Regions from separate parts of the Homo sapiens genome. Here region 2 is linked to region 1. The links are contacts of gene promoters, found by promoter capture Hi-C in human tissues and cell types (Jung and others, 2019). All regions are on one chromosome and are shown on one strand. Each heading gives the region's core, a stretch centred on a gene start or on the middle of the fragment in contact. The rest is flanking DNA. Distances are from core to core; before and after follow the strand shown. Region 1 holds the start of MYH9 (myosin heavy chain 9). Region 2 overlaps RBFOX2 (RNA binding fox-1 homolog 2).

What was found. The method cuts DNA at HindIII sites, captures the fragments that hold promoters and counts their contacts. A contact is called where the count stands out against the background at its distance.
Region 2: a fragment that was not itself captured here is called in contact with the fragment with the promoter of MYH9 in region 1 in 1 of the 25 tissues and cell types used here (dorsolateral prefrontal cortex).

The regions. Positions count from the first base shown.
Region 1 is chr22:36,386,432-36,389,762 of GRCh38, forward strand. It overlaps MYH9 (myosin heavy chain 9), which reads right to left and starts at 1,536. Exons shown (of 41, transcript NM_002473.6): 1 at 1,376-1,536. It overlaps MYH9-DT (MYH9 divergent transcript), which reads left to right and starts at 2,163. Exons shown (of 3, transcript NR_183573.1): 1 at 2,163-2,304. RefSeq lists enhancers at 1-122, 1,553-1,847 and silencers at 560-789, 1,070-1,149, 1,180-1,759. The HindIII fragment of the contact is 20,760 bases long and covers 1-3,331 here.
Region 2 is chr22:36,015,811-36,019,141 of GRCh38, forward strand. The region is part of intron 1 of RBFOX2 (RNA binding fox-1 homolog 2); the gene reads right to left. Among named protein-coding and RNA genes, the nearest start is that of RBFOX2, 11 kb to the right of the region's middle. The HindIII fragment of the contact is 5,046 bases long and covers 1-3,331 here.

The sequences.
Region 1 (3,331 bases), core at 286-2,785:
CTAAGCCATCAGGTGAGCCAAACACTGGCCCAGACAGTGTAGTTAGAATGGCCACAGTGCTGCGCTGCACGGAGAAGGAGCTAAGGCTCTCTTCCCTTTCCACGGTTACTCATCAGTCACTTTGAAATCCTGTTAAACCCAGAAAAGGGCGCAGTGAACCGAGAAGTGGCTGGGCCTCTCAACTGCCCGGTGGAGACAGCCGCCTGCCTCTACGACCTGGGACTTCCCAAGGAGTCTTCTCTCCACACCGGCTGGGTGGGGCCGTGCGCTCACCCTGCCCCCCACCACAGGACAGCCGGCAAGCTAGTGCTGGGGGTGCTGAGTCTCAGTTTGAAACAGCGGGGCTTCCCTGGAGAATGAGGGTGCCGCAGTCCTGTCTCCTGTGCGTGGCCCCAGAACAGGATGGGGTGAGGACCCCAGCACAGGGAAGCGGGTGCGTGGAGTGGAGAATAGAAAACTCCGATTTGGCTCAAACAGGAAAGATGCAATCGCCCAGGCCTGCTCGTAACGGCAGAGCTAGCTGCCCCCGCACCCCGCCCAGACGGGATGGCCCCTGGGTGCGGTGGAATCAGGTGCACGCCTGGGCGGCCCCGACGGCTGCTGCATTCCGGGCCTCCCTCCCCCGAGGATCAGAAGTCGGAGGTCGAGGGCTGGAGCAGGGACTGGGGGTGGCCCTTCCTGTCTCGCGCCCGGGTCCCCGCCGGGTCCCCCTTGTCCGGGCAGCCGCCGCACCTCCCCCGGGCCCTCCCCGACCAGTCCGACGGCAGCGGGCGAATGAGGAAGTCGGCCGCGGAGGCGGAAACCGGGCCGGGTGCAAGGTCTGCAGCGGGACGGTCCGACTCTGACTCAGGAGGACGCCCTGACAGCTGCCAAACGGTGCCCGCTGCCCGTTACCTCCGTGCCTCAGACGCCAGAAACTTCCACGGGAGCGGCTGCCCCGGGCTCCCAACCCGTGAGGCTGCGTCCCAGGGGCCGCGGCTCCCGGAAGGGGTTAAAAAGTTTGCCCGAGTCGGGCCTGGGCGAGGCGAGGGCGGGGCGCGTGCCCCAGCGGCTGGGGGAGGTCGGCTCCAGTGCCCAGTCCTGAGACCGCGCCGGGGGACACGGGGGGCGCCGGGGAGCGCCGGGTCCCGAGGCCGCCCCTGCACCCCTAGGCCTCGCTGCTGCCGGCGCCCTCCCCGAGCGCCCGCGTGGGGGTCCCGGTCCCCCTGGGAAGGATGCGGTGCCGGGCCCTGAGCCGCCGGCGTTCGCCCCCGCCCGCGCGGGTGGCGGGCCGCACTGAGCCCAAGAACCACCAGTCGGCCTGGCGGCAGCGCGTCTCGCCCCCGCCCGCCCGCCGCCGCCTGCCCGGGGCGGGACCGCGGTGGGGCTCGCTCACCTGAACCTGGATCTGCCCCGGGAACAGGCGCTGCTTCTCCCGAGAGGACTTTCTCGAGCGCTCGGGCGGCGGCCGGGTGGGGCGAGCGCACGAGGCGGGAGCTGCAGCAGGTCAGCCTTGCTTAGCCTTCCGTGCCCTGCCCAGGAACCGCGGTGATCTGCGCGCCTCACCGCACCCAGCTCGGCTCCTCGCCGCCTTCCCGCCCCGCCCTCGGAGCCGCGGGACCATTCCCAGCCGGGAGCCGGCTCCGGGGCGGAGCCTGGGGCACAATCCCGCCCCCTTCCTGCTACACCCACTGCAGGCCGCGCCTGGCCTTGATGGGCAGACGTATTGGCCTGTGGAAAGGGGGTGGGCGGAGCCTCTGCGGCCAGATGGGTGGGGATTCAACATCCTCTTTCCGCCCCACCTCCACCCGCTCCACCTTCCCCCGCGCTTCCTAGGCGGGAGCCCCGCCCTCTAGGGCGGGTCCAACGGACAGCCAGGTTCTAGGACAAGGATTGACACAGGGGGAATCCAATCAGGAGGCGGCGACTCGGGGCGCGGAGAGCTCCGGGCCGGGGTTTTGGTGCCTTGCCTGGGCCGGGGCGAGGCCCTGCGGGAGCCGACTGGGAAGGTCTGGAACTCTGACACCCCGCCCCGCGAGCTGTGCTCTCAGTCTCATGTCATCCCACCACAAGGACAGATATTAAGTACCATATATGGGAAAAATGCTATTTTACATAATTATGATCCCTGTGGGGGCGGGCATGGACTCAGCCCTGGATTCCATTGTGAGCGTCTTGAGTTCGATTCCTGACCCTGCCTCTTTAGGATCCGCACGTTGCTGCCTTTCAGCCTCCAAACCTTCGCTCTGGCCGTTCTCTCCACCTGGAATACCCTTCCGAGCCTCTCTTCACCTCCATGTCATTAACTCGCATACATCCTTTCAGGTACTTGTTACAAATTGCACTTTTTTTTTGTTACTGTCCACTACAAGAGGATAAAAAATGTTTTCATTTTTAAATGAAAAATCTTTTGATCCATTTGGAATTTATTTTTGGGGTAAGGAAGAAACCTAAGATAATTTTTGTAATAGCCACTTGTCCAAACACTGTTTTCTCCACTGATTTTAGTTGGCACCTTCATCGCCTATAGAACTATTATACTTGAAGCTGTTTCTGACTTGTATACATTGATCTCTCTGTGTGCACCTGTGCCAATCCCACCATGCTTTAATGAAGATACCTTTATAATACATTCTATATCTATGAGGGCAAATTTCTCATCATTACTCTTTCTTACTGGAATGTGCTTGCTATCATGACTATTCTTCCAAATTAACTTCAGAAAAAAGCTATGTTCTAAAGGCAAAAGAAAGCTGGGAAAAAAAGATTTTGCAACTCTGTGACAAATTACTATCAGCAATATATAAAGATCTCTTCCCAGTTGATAAGAAAAACCTCGGCCGGGCGCGTGGCTCATGCCTGTAATCCCAACATTTTGGGAGGCCGAGGCGGGCGGATCACCTGAGGTTGGGAGTTCAAGGGCAGCCTGACCAACGTGGAGAAACCCCGTCTCTACTAAAAATACAAAATAATTAGCCGGGCATGGTGGCCCATGCTTGTAATCCCAGTTACTCAGGAGGCTGAGGCAGGAGAATCGCTTGAACCCGGGAGGCGGAGGTTGCAGTGAGCAGAGATCGTACCACTGCACTCTAGCCTGGGCAACAAGAGCATAACTCCGCCTCAAAAAAAAAAAAAACAAAGAAAAAGAAAAAGAAAAACCTCAAAGACTCCAAAATAAAAATGGCCAAAAACAGGAACAGGTGATTTTAAAGAAGAATTATAAATGGCCAATAATTATTTTTAAAAAGCCATAAGAAATGCAAACAAAACAACATAAAATGCCATTTTCACCTAATTAAAAAAAAAATGCTCAATATTGGTCAGGTTTATAGATACAGATGAGAAAGTAAAT
Region 2 (3,331 bases), core at 498-2,997, 370 kb before region 1:
TACTTACCCTCCCAAGAATTTTTGTGGACCACTGAACTGAAGAAGGAAAAGAAAGAAAAAGGGAGAAAACAAACTTTAGGCTGTAAGTGTGACTGTATAAAAATCCCTGAGAGGATGAATTATGAAACTAAACTCCATGCAACAGGGCTAACTATGTAGCTGCTTTTCCACTTGCCTAATGGCCCAAGACAAATAGAGCAGGGCCATCCAGGAGTCCCAACAACTTCCAGGAAAATGGAACCAACGTCCTCCTGTCTCAGAACAAGCCACATACCCCCTGAAAGTAACCCCTAAGTGAAATCCATATAGATCTGCTTTGAAAATCACTCTGGCTGGCAACAATTAAGGCCCACTCCTTCAAACAATTCCAATTTGTATGGGAAAAAGCTTCTTAAAAGAAAAAAAAAAGCAATTGAAAGAAATTTCTATGAGCCTCTGCCCAAAAGTATTCCAACTCAAGCAACTGCTGCAGGCCACATTCAGACACCCCCAGTCTCCCCAGGCCCTGTCTGTAGTTCCTCTAGTTTTACTCACATAGCTTCTGCCTCCACCCCAATCCCCAGAGCTAGGAGAGTCCCACGGCCACACCACCCATCCCTCATGATAAATCATGCTTTGCTTGTGGTATTTCCAGTTAGAATCTGACAAAAATCAATGCAGCCAGAAAAAAAAAATACATCAACAATATGCCTCCTCAAAAACCACATGCCTGGAATAAAATATCCAATACCCAGTGCAAAATCTCTCTTCTTCAACAACGGAGAAACCAAGGAACCAGCCTATACATGGGAAAAATCCCACACACCAAGGTGTTACCTGGGGACCTAAGTCCCTAAGAAAACCCACGTCTTATGGCTGAACACACCCATGTGGAAGTCTAAACCTCAAAGGCTGTTTTCCACCCTTGGGAAAACAGGTTTTTAAGCAGTTATTCCATCACCATCATTTGACAATTCAAGAATGTCATCTACTTCATAAGTGGTATTTATCATGTGTCCTGTGCCTTGAATTTTTGGCAGAAATTTCTAGATGCCACGTAAGTGCAGGACATGTCAGAAGGAAGTGATATATTACAGGCTGCTCTCTCTCATTCCCTTCTCAGAATTCTCTTTATTCATTTAGAATAGAAAAGGCCAGAGGCACTATGAAGTACAATCATTTGCAGCTAAAGAGGTCCCTACTAAACTGGCTGGAACAGGCAAGGATTATACAGGACCCCAAACCAGAAGCTGAAAGTGAAGTCGGAGGGGAGAACAACAGCCAGAGAGAATTCTTATAAAATACTTCTATGAATCTATCGCCAAGGCTGAGATTTAAAGGAACACTATCAGACTTCCTTATTTTCAAACATATCCAATATGAGTGATGTGAAAAATACCATGTATTGTGAAGTGTCTCCGCTTGGTATTTTCCCCAGATCCATAAAAACATGTTACAGTGCCGGGCACGTGGCTCATGCCTGTAATCCCAGCACTTTGCAAGCCGAGGCGGGTGGATCATGATGTCAGGAGTTCGAGACCAGCCTGGCCAACATGGTGAAACCCTGTCTCTACTAAAAATACAAAAATTAGCTAGGCTTGGTGGTGGGTGCCTGTAAATCCCAGCTACTCGGGAGGCTGAGGTAGGAGAATTGTTTGAACCCGGGAGGCGGAGGTTGCAGTGAGCCGAGATCATGCCATGGCACTCCAGCCTGGGCAAGAAGAGCAAAAACTCGGTCTCAAAAAAAATAAAAAATAAAAAATAAAGCTATAGTATCCGATGAAATTCACTGGTTGAGAAGAGAAAGGTTAAGGTCCCTAGCTGATCAAATAGTTCTCACCCCAAATGGTGGTAATACATGCGAACTGCTACACTCCAGAATCCTGCAGCAGCACTGTAAAAAGGTAAATCAACAGCCTGCTCCAGCGAACTGGAACAGGTTGGCTCTAATTGCCTCTCTCACTTGTGTGGTTCCTCTTTTCTCCTTAACCACACTATCACAAAGGAGCTTTTTACATATACACACGTGCACTCAATTAATATCTGAACACAGGAAACTAAATATCAGGTTGCTATGCCTACCCAACACATTCTGCAGTTAAATTCTACCCCAGCTTCTGTTTTCAGAGACCCCTCTCTCACCTTTAACCCTGATATCAATGAAAAGATCAGGTTAACATTCACATATCACACAACATGCAGTCTTCACAGGGGATAGAAAGCAGACCAAGGGCCAGACCCCCCAGGGAAAATCTGGATAAACAATTAAAGCCATCTGCAGGCCCCAACTGAGAAGCAGGAAGACAAAGTTCAATTTAACAAAAATGGACAGTTTCTTGACTACTTGGGCCCAGGCATGGTGCTTAATCCTACAGATTCCTAAGGATCTCACAGTCTGGGTAAGCGTGGTGGGGCAGACATTCAATCAAGTATTAATCTAAAAAGTCCTTTAACAGAGCTATAGACATGATGTCTTGGAAGACAGCAGGAGTGTGGGAGACATGGGAATAGTCACAAAAGGCATCCAGGAGGAATCAATATCCAAACTCATTATTAAAGATTGAGCCTTACAAATGTGGGGGTAGAAGAGATGAAGCAGGAACTTTGGGTAGAAGGGAAAGGAACAAAAGCACAGAGGTATTCATTAGCTGGGTGGCACCACATGCTAAGAAAACTATAAGCCACTGGACATGGACTTGGAGGTGGAATGTGGAAAGAGACGGAGCTTGAAAGTTACGCAGAAGTCAGGCCAAACAAGAGAACAGACAATCCTGAGAAAAAACACAAGCTCTCAAAAGATTTTAAGCGTGGAGTAACAAATTGACTCTTTTGTTTTATTTTTGAGACAGAGTCTCACTCTGTCATCCAGGCTGAAGTGCAGTGGCTCGATCTCTCCTCATTGCAACCTCCACCTCCTGGGTTCAAACAATTCTCCTGCCTCAGCCTCCCAAGTAGCTGGGATTACAGGCATGCGCCACCACGCCCAGCTAATTTTTGTATTTTTAGTAGAAACAGGGTTTCATCATGTTGGCCAGGCTGGTCTCGAACTTCTGACCTCAAGTCATCTGCCCGCCTCAGCCTCCCAAAGTGCTGGGATTACAGGCATGAGCCACCGCACCTGGCCAGATTGGCTCTTTTAGATAGATCACTGTGTTAGCAGTCTGGAGAGCGGGTTTGAAGAGACTGAAAAGGGACCACAAGAGACAACACAAAGGCATCCCAGCTCAATTTCCATAGACAAAATGAGAACAAAAAGTGCCACTTTTGAACCAACATACGTAACAAAACTTATAAAATTTGAAACACGACATTTTTACTGTTCCTGCCTTCCATGTACCACTAAAACAGCCAG